4 separate regions of the Homo sapiens genome follow, and regions 1, 3 and 4 are each linked to region 2. Evidence: promoter capture Hi-C in 16 types of primary human blood cells and fetal thymus (Javierre and others, 2016). All regions are on one chromosome and are shown on one strand. Each heading gives the region's core, a stretch centred on a gene start or on the middle of the fragment in contact. The rest is flanking DNA. Distances are from core to core; before and after follow the strand shown.

Evidence for each region. The method cuts DNA at HindIII sites, captures the fragments that hold promoters and counts their contacts. A CHiCAGO score of 5 or more calls a contact.
Region 1: a contact is called between a fragment that was not itself captured here and the fragment with the promoter of ARHGAP20 in region 2, in 2 of 17 cell types (M1 macrophages and naive B cells). The highest score is 7.2, in M1 macrophages.
Region 3: a fragment that was not itself captured here is called in contact with the fragment with the promoter of ARHGAP20 in region 2 in 1 of 17 cell types (total B cells); the score reaches 7.7 in total B cells.
Region 4: a contact is called between a fragment that was not itself captured here and the fragment with the promoter of ARHGAP20 in region 2, in 5 of 17 cell types (M1 macrophages, total B cells, naive B cells and 2 more). The highest score is 9.3, in M1 macrophages.

Annotation. Positions count from the first base shown.
Region 1 is chr11:111,277,885-111,280,681 of GRCh38, reverse strand. The region is part of intron 2 of POU2AF2 (POU class 2 homeobox associating factor 2); the gene reads right to left. Among named protein-coding and RNA genes, the nearest start is that of POU2AF3, 19 kb to the left of the region's middle. The HindIII fragment of the contact is 4,046 bases long and covers 1-2,797 here.
Region 2 is chr11:110,710,933-110,713,951 of GRCh38, reverse strand. ARHGAP20 (Rho GTPase activating protein 20) reads left to right here and starts at 1,515. Exons shown (of 15, transcript NM_001384657.1): 1 at 1,515-1,825. The coding sequence starts at 1,721. RefSeq lists silencers at 1,404-1,563, 1,584-1,643 and enhancers at 1,167-1,668, 2,651-3,019. The HindIII fragment of the contact is 6,153 bases long and covers 1-3,019 here.
Region 3 is chr11:111,438,945-111,441,761 of GRCh38, reverse strand. It overlaps a transcript of BTG4 not described here. Among named protein-coding and RNA genes, the nearest start is that of POU2AF1, 61 kb to the right of the region's middle. RefSeq lists enhancers at 1-1,041, 1,878-2,464 and silencers at 2,373-2,442, 2,463-2,512. The HindIII fragment of the contact is 450 bases long and covers 1,063-1,512 here.
Region 4 is chr11:111,252,465-111,255,633 of GRCh38, reverse strand. All of the region lies in intron 1 of POU2AF2 (POU class 2 homeobox associating factor 2), which reads right to left. Among named protein-coding and RNA genes, the nearest start is that of POU2AF2, 8.3 kb to the right of the region's middle. The HindIII fragment of the contact is 180 bases long and covers 1,189-1,368 here.

The DNA of each region.
Region 1 (2,797 bases), core at 139-2,638, 570 kb before region 2:
GGCCATTGTGAAATACAATAAGGGTGACTTGAACACAAGCACTGCCATACAGAGACAGGTGATCCAATCACTGAGTCGGCTACTGAGACACTAACGGGCAGGTGGTGTAGACAGTGTGGATTGGCTGGACAAAGGTAAGATTCAAGTCCTGGGCAGCACAGAGTGGGACTGAATGAAATTTCATCACACCACTGAGAAAGGCATGCCATTTAAGATCTAGAAATTGTTTATTTCTGGAATTTCGCATTTAGTATGTTCAGACTGCAGTTAACCATGAGTAGCTGAAACCTCAGAAAGGGAAACCATGGCTAAGGGGCGCCTACTGTATGTGTGTATGTGCATACATGCACTTAGTGTTTGGCTTCAGCACTGAAGGGCCACTTCAATGTTTACTGTCTGAATCCATGTGGAGGAAGAAGCTCCACCAACTGTAGGGACCTTGACTGTGATGTGCCCTCAGTGCCTAGAACAGGGTGTAGTTCATAATAGACGTAAGAAAAATATGTGGAATGAAGACACAATCTTCAAAGAACCCACAGGCTAGAGAGCAGGGAGAGGTTGGGGAATGTGGTGGGTTGCATTATGTGCCCCCTCCAAAAGATATATATATATATATATATATATTTTTTTTTTTTTTTTTTGAGATGGAGTCTCACTCTCTCACCCAGGCTATAGTGCAATGGCACGATCTCGGCTCACTGCAACTTCCACCTCCCGGATTCAAGTGATTCTCCTGCCTCAGTCTCCTGAGTAGCTGGGATTACAGGCACGCACCACCACACCTGGCTACTTTTTGCATTTTTAGTAGAGATGGGTTTCACTGTGTTGGCCAGGCTGGTCTCGAACTCCTGACCTCAGGTGATCTACCTGTTTCGGCCTCCCAAATTGCTGGAATTTCAGGCATAAGCCACCCAAAGTTATATTGATACCTTAATCCCTGATACCTGTGAATGTGACGGTATTTGCTAATAGGGCTGTTAAAGATGTAACTACTTAAATTAAGATGAGGTCATATTAAATTAGGGTGGGTCCTAAATCTCATGTGACTGATGTCCTAATAGGAAGAGGAGAGGGACGCACAAAGACACAGATGCAGATGGGACAAGGTCATGTGAAGACAAAGGCAGCAGTTTGAGTGATACAACCTCAAGCCAAGGAACATCGAGGATCACCAGTGACAACTGCCAGCTAGGAAGAGGCAAGGAAGGATTCTCCCCAGAGGCTCCAGAGGGAGCATGGCCCTGCTGACACCTTGATTTTGGACTTCTAGCCTCTAGAGCTATCTATGAGATGATACATTTCTGTTGCTGTAAGTCATCCCATTTGTGGTAACTTGTTACTGCAGCCCTAAGACACCAATACAGGGGTGATTGATGACAAAACAGAATATTCGGTGTAGTATGAGAAGTGGCAGGGTCAGGGAAAGATGGGGTGATGCGGGCACCTAAACTGGTGTCAAGAATGGGGTGGGAGACACATCTTGCAGGATGCAGTGCCTAAGCTGACCTCTGAAGGAAGAGTATCTAGGCGTGTAGAGTCTTAAAATACGCAAATCATGGCTCCGAGATGTCCTGGAGCAAAGTAAGTGGAGAGGGTGTAGCTTCTGTGGAAGTTAAGAATCCTCAACATCCAGTTCATTGAATCCGAGCTCTTTTGCAGTGACTTTAATGATTCTATAGACTCTCAAGAGTTGGAAGAAATTTTATAGAGTCTCATTCAATGATTACATTCTCTCCATATTACTAACACCAGGTGCATCTAATATCCAGGCACACAGAACTTAGCACCCTCTGAGGAAACCCATTTCTTCTTTAGGAACTTTTACCAATTACAAAGTTGGCTGGAAAGAATAACTTTCTAGTTCTAATCCCTTTGGTCTTTATAGAATAAGTTTAACACTTCTTGCATACACAGCCCTTCAAATATCTGAAGACAAGCCTATGAAAAATACCATAGACTGCATGGCTTAAATAACAAAAATTTATTTCTCACAGTTCAGGAGACTGGAAGTCTGAGATCTAGGTGTGGTTTTTAGTGCGGGCCCTCTTTCTGGTTTGCAGAAAGCTGGCTTCTCACTGTGTGTTCACATGGCTGAGAGAGAGAGAGAGAGAGAGAGAGAGAGAGACAGAGAGAGAGATCATCTCTCTGGTGTCTCTTCTTATAAGGACACTAATCCCATTAGAGGGATTCACCTGCAAGATCTAATTACCTCCCAAAGGCCCCTTCTCCAAATGCCATCACACAGGGGATTAGCACCTCAACATTTGAATTTTAGGGGAATGCAAACGTGCAATTGCAATCTGTAATATCAACCTCGAGTTCGAACTTCTCCAGGCAAAATATCTTCCAACAACTCAGAAGCAGCATGGTAATTAAGAGTAAAGCCTCTGGAACCAGAGTGACTACATTTGAATCCCAGCTCTACCTCTTATTAGCTGTGGGATCTTGGGCACATGAAGATTAAATGAGATTATTACATCGAGCACTTAGAATAGTGTCTGCCACATGGTAAACAGCATATGTGCCTTAGCTATTATTACTATTATGCATTTGTTGGTTCCTTCAAATCTGTGGTATATTTCTCCAAACCTTTTGATTTATGGGTTTTCCTGTTTAATATTTTAACACTTTTAAGTGGCAGAAGGGAACTCTCGGGCATGTAATGGTCAGAAGTAGGTCCCTTAATATTTCTATGAGAAGGAAAGGGGCAGTGATTAAATCACAGATGCACTTGTATTTGGGCACATATTCCCATGTAGCAGGCGCCCATGTTATCCAGTGTTACCCTCCCATTTTC
Region 2 (3,019 bases), core at 266-2,765:
CAGCAAGGAATGAAAGGAACTGCAAAGCCCTCTGCGTGTAGAATTCATGACAAACTCTATGGTGGGGGCAAAGTCCTGTCGCTGCACATGGGTCTCAGCTGCAAAAAGAGAGTAGCCATGAAAAACTGTGTGTGTATATGCACACATACATAAACACAATAATAGATGATTTACAAATCATACATGTGATTTATACGTGTGTGTGATTTATACGTGTGTGTGATTTATAAAGCCTATGTAAGCCTACTTTAAACAGTGTGAGGTGGACAAGGCTTAAAACGGGCTGGAACATTTTCCCCCTATTATTTCCACAATAAACCATTCCTGGGCATGGTGGTGATGTGTGCGCGCGCGAGTGTGTGTTGGACAGCATCCCTTCCTTGGAACAGAGCCGGCCAGAGCCCTATTCTTCTACAACCTGTCCTAATAACAGCCTAACCTGGCAGGAACCTCGATTTTTTTCTTCTTACCACAAAAGCAAACCAAACCCCTTCCACAACCTAATATCATAGCGTGGTGTCCTTCCTCACTAATCCGCCACTGCTTCTCTAGTCCTGACTCCAAGGGAAGAATGCCATCTACCGAATCATCCGTACCAGTCAACCAGCCCCGCAAAGTGCAGCAACACTCAGCTCAACGCGGGTCAGCTCCAAATCCTCTCCCTCTGATTATTCTTTGGCCTTTAAAATATTTTTGCCTCTATTTGGGCTGACAGGAAGTTATGCTCTCGGCGCAGATATCTGATAAACACTTCCACATATTGTAGCCTTCTCAATAGCTTAGCCAAATTTCGGCGTCCTCGCTCTGTCTGCATTTTCCTTCATTGCTCTTTCACGTTTGGAATGCCCCCGTCTCTGCAGCCTGCAGACAGCGGAAACCGCGGGTGCAAATGTGCAGGGGCCGCTGACATGACCGGCTGCAGAAGCCCACTCAGGGTTACCCGAACAGGCTAGCGTTCGGGATTGCACAAGAGGTCAGGCGATGCTGTGGGCTTCCAAATTTGTACAGCTGCGACACTCTGCGACGTGCCACCCTATCCCCAGTGGGGTGGGGTGGGGGATTCCCTCCGCAGTCCGCTGAAAGCGAGGCAGGAATCACTGCAACTCCTCTGCTCAGGCTGAGGTCGCCACCGCTCCGCGGATGCACGCGCTGCAGGGGCGCCTTCCGCCGCGGGCACGGCGCGGGAAGGGATGGGGTCTGGTGGGAGTGGGCAGGTGGCGGGAGAGGCGCGTGTCCGTGCACTAGAGGCCCCCGTGCGTGACACAGGCCGATGAGCTCCTGCGGGCTGCACCCACGCGGAGTCACAGACCGAAAAGGTCAGCCGGTGGCCGGTGTGCTAACATATATAGAGAGACGCCCGCCAGGCGCGCCGCAGGCTGGGACGAGGCTAGGAGGGCCCAGGCTGGAGGAGGGCTGAGGAGGGCTGCGGGGGCGGGCCCCGGCGCAGGGCGCCCGGAGCGGAGGGGGCGGGCCCGAGGCGGGGCGGGCCGCGGCGCTGACGGGCTGTCGCCGCTGCACTCGCCTCCAGCCCGCGGTGTCGAGCGCAGGCGGAGGTACATGGCCCCGACGGGAGGCGCGCGGCGAGCACCCGGAGCTCGGCTCCCTGCCTGAGCACGGCAGCCGCGCCTCCGCCCGCGCGTCCTCGCCCCTCCGGCCGGCAGCCCGCGGACATGATCGTGTAGCCTCCTCCTGGGCTGGGATTTGTTTGAAGATTTTCTTCATGGAAGCGATGTCCCCCCAGCAGGAGACTCTAGGGGGACAGCCGGGGCGCTCCTCTTCCCTGACAGGAGTGTCTCGGCTCGCGGGAGGCAGCTGCACCAAGAAGGTGAGGACGCTGAGCGGGGGCCCGTGCCCTCCGCCGCCGCAGCCCCCACTGCCGGCGCGCGCCCTCCGCGCCCGCCACAGCAGCGCGCTAGGCGGACGCCGCGGGAATTTGACGCTCGAGGCTCGCGGCCCCTAATGAGAGTCCCAGAACACTTCCCGCCCTTGACGGCCAGCGGCAGCGCCGCCGCCTCCCGCAGAGCGCCCGCTTCTCCGTTTCTAGAGCCTTAGTCTCTCCTCGAGCGACCTCGCAGCCTCCCTCCCGTCTCCATCCGCCGCCGGTTCTGCAGCCCGGCTCCTCCCTCAGTCTAGGCGCGCGGGCTGTAGTGGGCGATCGCCTTTCCCCGACCCCTCGCCGTGCCCCTGGGCCTCCCGAAGTGGCCTGGGCGAGCACTGACTGCCCTTTGGCGGTGTCAGCCCCAAAGTCAGGGCCGGCGATGTCTGCCCGGGAGCGGCAGCCGGCGCTGAAGAAGGTAGGCAGCGGGGCTGCGGCGCTGGTGGGCTCGGCCCCCTCACCTGCCCGCCGAGGCGCGGCTGCTCCATAGCAGTTTTCGGGGGGCAGATATGGGGAGTACTGCCCCCCACACCAGGGTCCTGGATGATTCCGGGTCTCCCAGGTGGGGGTCACAGTTTGAGGGGCGACTGTGGATGATAACGCTCGACACTACGGGGACATGTAGGTTCGGCTGGGCCTAGAACCGAGCAGGGTGGGGGCGGGTGGGCTGTGGTTGGGGGTCCTGAGGGCTGAGGTGGGGGACCTTCTCCCTGCACTGGTCCCTGGCCCCTGGGACTCTGGCCGGGCTGGATAGGGATCCGGGTGTCGGTGTGGGCGTGGGGGCAGCGCGTGTTCCCTGTCAAAGCTGGGAGAGGGATGCAGGTGACAACTTGTAGCGTTCCATTCCGATAAACACGGCCGCTGTGCTGCGGGAGGATTCCGATCCGGGTCAGGTTTCGCTGGAACGGTTCCCTGAGCAAGTGCACGTGGGCCGCGGGCTGCCGGCCTCTGCCGTTTCGCTCCCTGAGGAATTGATTTGGGTGTTTCTAGCCCTGTCTGCCTGTCCCCCGCCTCCCCACCCCCGCTTCCAGCATAAGACTTTCCGATATTTTGCCTTTTTTTTTTTTTTTGCCTTGTCTTAGTGGTGCCCTTCCAGCTTTTCTGGAAACAAGTTGCGATTAGAGGCATCTTCTAGCTTTTCCT
Region 3 (2,817 bases), core at 38-2,537, 730 kb before region 2:
TTCCCTTTCTGTTAATGCTTCTGTCCCCTGCCCGTCAACCATGGGGGTTTCCCAGGATTAGTCACACATTCAAGTCAATAACAAGGAGTTCTTACCCTGTACAAGAACTTCATGAGATCAAAAGCGAGGCACAGTCACGGAGTTTATAGTCAGGCGTGGGAGAGGCATGGATATATTATAAACAGCCCAAGAGCAGACAAGGACAGAGAAGTCAATCCGTAAGGCATCTCTAAGGAACTCATGACTAATTCAGACTGTGGGATCTGGGAAGTCTCTGAGCTGAGAGTTGAAAGAAGAAGGGTGGTGTATTCTCTGTGGTCTGTTCCCAAGCCCATAAAATCTCCCTTGACTCTGGTGCTCAAGGAGCCATCTCTCTCTCGGAGGAGCCGCTGCTGATGCTCTAGTTTGCTTCTCTCTTCCTTCTCAATACTCCTTCCTTCCTGTGGGAACATGAGCAGACCCTGTTCTCTCCCCTACTCCCCAGAGCCCTGAGATATTACATTATGAGATTTTCTTTGCTAATATTTTATTTCTTAAGTTAGGTTGTGGGTACATGGGTGTTTATTATTGTATTCTTCATTCCTTTTTGTATGGCTTGCATATTTCATAATAACATTTGAAATGTATTTGTGAAAAAAAAAAAAAAGAAAAGAGAGCGGTCTCTGGCCCTGGCCTGTGTGACCTTGTGCCCTCACTCCAGGAACCAAGACTCTGCCAGATGACTGCCACTCCCAGCCTAAGCCTGGGAAAGTGCAGCTGGTCTGGGCCAGATGGGTCTGCGGGTGCCTGTCTGACCAGGTATTGCATACATGTTGATGTGACTCAGTACCTAAGTGGTGTGGCAGATAGTCACCTATCCCCTCCTCACTCTCCTTGTCCCCTCATCTCCATGACCCACCTCTGACTTCTGTAGAGTCTCAGAGCTGCAACATAGTGACAACCCTTCTCTACAGCAGGTGCTTGTTGCTGGTGCCATTCTGCAAGGGCTGGATGGGACAAGTCTGGGGCATTCCCCCTGTCTTGGGGCAGCATCTTCGCCTCAGCACTGACCTGACTCAAGCTTCCTTATCTCCCATCTAAAGCTATCTGTGAACAAAAATCTGAAAAGGGCAGATCTAGGTCTGGCAGCAACTGAGAAAAACCAAAGTTCCTGCCAACAGCCAAGGTAGGTAAGAGGCAGGCCAAACGGGGTCAAATGGGGACACCGCCCAGGGGTAGGATGTTGGTTTGAGTCTCTGGGGAAAGAATGGAAAGGATGTCAGCTCCTAGTACATGCAGGCTGGTAACTGTGATGTTCTATTTGCAAGGATAGGTTATTTAGACATTGGGACCAGGAAACTCTGTCTCTGAACTAGTTACAGGGGCTGGTGGCTTCTGAAAAGACCTCTTTAGCTGGTGTGACAGATTAAAGATGTTGCAATTTCTTTTCTTTTGAATCTGCTTGACTAATAGAATGTAGCAGAAGTGAGATTCTGGGATTTTAGAGCCTAGGTCATGTGAAGGCTTGAAGCTTCTGCAGAGTTCTTTTGGGACACTCTCTCTGGGAGCCTTGATCTGCTAGGCTGGAGAGGCCATGTGCAGGCCCTTTGCTCAACAGTCCCAGCTGAGCCAAGCCTTTTAGCCATACTCACTAAGTCACCAGCCATGAAAATGAAACCATCTTAGATCCCAGATCACAGAGTAACCCCAGCCAATGCCAACAGAGCAGACTTACCCAGCTGAGCCCTGAACAGGTTTCTGAACTACAGCACTGTGAGATAAAATAAAACAACCGTTGTCTTAGGCTGCTAAGTTTTGAGATTGTTTGCTACACAAAAACAGATAACCAAGATGGCTGGGGCACCCCTATTCAGGCCACCAGTTCAATGACCAACTTCCAATTCCCGCATCAATATGAGAGATGGAGGATCATGGCTCATTCTCAAAATGACCGGGCGGAGGAGCTGGAGCCAAAACGTAAAGTGCTGAGCATGTCTTTGAAAGGGTCTTCTAGAGGCTCTTTGCTTGGGATGGCTCTATGACTCCTATAGGTGAAGTGCTGAAGTAAATAGGAAAACTGACCTAGGAATGGCCTCCAGATGATGAGGCAAAGTGTGCAGAAACTGAGAGGGGGTGTGAGTCTGGGAGGGGAAGTACGAGGGGGCTGGACGGCATCTGGAAGAGGAAGGTCCTGAGAGACACATAGGAGGGAGCTGGGTTCTGGGAGGAGGACTTGGGGATGAATGTTTCTGTAAGGGAAGTAGAGGGCGGTGGGGGGCACCGAGAGTACAGGCAGCCTTGAGCTGGTGTCTGGCCAAGGGTTGTAGCAGTCCTTGGGCTGGTGTCTTCTCCTGCTCCATCTGCGGCTGTGCTGGGCTCTCTTTAAAGAGCCCTTCTGGGCATCCAGATGAGCTCACACAAACAGTGCAGGTGCAGGTCTGGCCCGTAAACCACAACAACTGGGGCCTGTGCTGCCACAATGCGCTGGGCAAAGCCTCCAGAGGGGGAGAAAGGGTGACTATTTGTTTAGCATCATCAGCAAGAGTTCCAGAACCCATCAAAAGCAAAGCAGAAACTTTTGTATTAAGGAGATTAAACTTTAAACTCAGCTGAGAAGGCTCTGCTGTTTGAGTGGCTTTGTTGTGCCTGGCATTGTGTGATTATATGCAAATCACCAGGAAGCCTCCCTGGGGTCCCAACCGCAGAGGCTTAGCTGCCCAGCGGGTGGGTGTGCGGGACAGGGGGCAGCCCACGTGCTAGTCAGGTAACACCCAGTACCCAGGCCGGGGCAGCCTGCTTTCCCTTAAGTTCAGGGAATTGGGGATTTGAAAATATGTT
Region 4 (3,169 bases), core at 29-2,528, 540 kb before region 2:
CTTCTAAATACATGAGGTAGAAGTTAGATTTGTATGATTCAGGTTACAGCATAACAGTATTCCTGCCCTATTATACCTGATGGGAGTGAGCAGGTCAGCAGGAGTTTTAAGAAGATTACGTTCCTAAGAAGAAAGTTGTTTGTTATTGGTTTACTGCACTAAATAAATGTTTTGTTTTTGAAAATCGGTGATTCAACATGAGGAGTTACTGCTTCAAAATAAGGCCGAGGATAAATAAGGAATCATTCATTCATTTAACAAATATTTATTGAGCACTTACTATATTCACTTCCTGAAGATGTTGTAGTGCTTGGCAATTTACATGTATTGCTTCATTTGATCTGTTTTACAGATGGGGAAACTGAGGTCTGCGACTAAATTATTTGCAAGGTCTCACAGCTACTTATAAGCAATAGAGCTGGAATCCAGACTTAGGTCGGTTTGTAGTATCAACAACCAGAAAAATATGCTGTTTTCACCATGAGGGAATTACAGAGAGATAACAGACTATAGAGTAAAACGTTTCCCCAAGGTTCTAAAATTGACAGCATTGCTTCTAGGGATAGTGAGAACCTTATTACTGAGGATGGTGAAGAAATAATAAGAGAACCTTTTGTTTGGCCTATTCTAGAAAGCATTTATACACTGTATTAGTGGTTCCACTAGAGGAATTCTAAGATGTTTTCTAACTATAATTATTATAATTGTTGTTCTGTAGTAGGTTAGACAACTTCCATTTAATTAAAATTAAATACATGATAGTTGAGGTGTTGCTGGCTTACCAGCAAATTCAGCTGGTACAGAATTCAGCATCAGTGTGTATGGCAGAATATAAAAACAAATGTACGTATGAGGCACATAACCAAAATTATTCTCTAATCTGGTTGAATTTGTAGATAGTCCAGAATATATTTGATTTGTGAGTCAAATTGGATTGTAAAAAGAATGAAAGGAAGGAAGAAAGGAAGAAATTAAAGCTACAACCAGAGGTAGTATGGTGCATTGGAGAAAAGAGGTTGCTGGTAATCACAGTTACACATTAGTCACTGGCTTGGAACAATAATAATCTCTCAGTTCCATTTTCCTCATGTGTAAAATGGGTATAATCACCTCTTCTTAGCTGTCTTCAGAGGATTAGAAGGCAAAAATAGGATATACATGTGAAAATTCCTTGAAAGCTAACAAGCTTCATACAAAACACCGATACAAAATGAAGAAGAAAAACAAATCCAGGTTCCAAGACAATGTATTATTTAATTCAAGTAAAGCCACATGCAGCCTTATTTCAGCAAAACAAAGTTATTTGAATCATCATTTGTGTCTAATTTTGACAGGATTTGGTCCATATATGCTATAATTAAAGAAGCTTGAAATACTTCTTTGAAATCAGCCTCAAATTTAAAGCTTACTGATCTTATGATTGTTCCAAAGGAATCTAAATGTTGCTTCTAGAATTGTGTGTGATGCTCTACTTTTGGAAAAGCCTAAGGTCACATTGATTTATTGATTATTGATTGAGTGTTTTCTGTGTGTCAGAACTGGGGATACAAAAGAACATGGCTATCTAGTGGGGAGAGAAATACTTTAAAATAAAATAATTGTGATGCAAACGTGCTAAGTGCAAGAACAGAAATACACCTAGGATAGTCAGAGAAACCCAGAACGCATCACTTCCTTGTAGCGGGGAGAGAGACTCAGGGAAGGCAGGGTGATACCTGAGTTGGGGCTTAAAGCAAGGTAGGGTGTGTGTGGTGATGGCAAAATAGGTAGGAAGACAGCACGGGCAAAGTCCTGGAGGCAAGGACAGAAAGAGGAAGTGGCAGGAAGTGAGGCTGGGGAAATGAGTAGGGGTCAATCATGATGTTTCTGGTATAGGGAAGAGTTTGGAATGCATCCTCTAGGCCATACGCCATTGGGGGCTTTTAAGAAAGACAGTGATGTTGGTTTGATTTGCATTTTATATAGACTTTTCTGGCAGCTGAGAGGAAGGTGGTTTTGAGAATCACAAAGCTGCGGGAAGATCAGTCAGGAGGGTTCTAGAATAATCCAGGCAAGAGCTGATGGGGACTGAGTAGTGGTGGATGGGAGGGCAAGGATCAGACAGGTTTGAACATTATTTAAACATGAGAGAGAAGAAGATTCAAGGGTGAATCTCAAGTTTCCACCATGGAATTGCTCTCAGTACATAAGTTTCAGAACCATCGTGATGTGGATGGTAATGAAACCAAGAAAGAGGATGAAATCCCTTGGGGGAGTGATTGAAAGATAAAGTCACATGGTGGCACACATAGAAAAGAATAATGAGCACCTGGCATACTGGGGTAAACAGGTCAGGCTACTTCCAAGAGCTAAGAGGATCAGTATCTTTGGAATGCCTATAACACTGATTTCTGACACACAGGTTTGGAAGCTGTGGACTAAATGATTAAAGATGGAAGCCTGGGGAACAGTGACATTTGAATGGTTGTCAGAGGAGGAGAGGAGAACCCTATGAAGAAGATAAGGGAAGACTAATTGGAGAAGAAACAGGAAAAACCAGGGGAATAAAGCATCCTAGAATTCTGGGGAAGAGATTTCAAGAAAGAAATTAAAAAAAATCAGAGGCAACAGAGTAGTTCAGGAAGATAAAGACAGAAAAACATCTCTTACTTTCAATTCAGTGGTTGGCATTGAGCTTACCAAGAATAACTCAGAAGTGCGGGGTGGCTGGAAGCCAGACAATAATGTCAATGGAGGAGGTAGACACAGGAAGGGGAGACTATTTCTTCTTGAAGTTTGAATGAGAAAGGGAAACAAGAGATTGAGTGATAATTAGAGAGAATTATGGTGTCAAGGAGAGGTTTGCTTATGTTCTTATATCTATTTATGCATTTATGAGTGGGAGAGAGTTGAAAATATTTGAAGAGGACAGAGGGAAGACTAATGGCTTAGAAGAGAGGGACAGAATGATGGAAAGAGGTCTTGAAAAGGCAGAAAGAAATTAAGGTCAAGGGCACAAATTGACCCTCAACTTCTGAGACTGAAATACAGAAAGTCAGGGTGTGGGCGGGGTGGTGGTATGGCCAGTTACTACGACCGCTCTAGTGCACATCAAGCAGGCTGGCATAGGAGAGCAATTCAAAACTGGGCAGAACCAGGCAGGGGTCAAAGCCAGACAGACAAGTCAAAG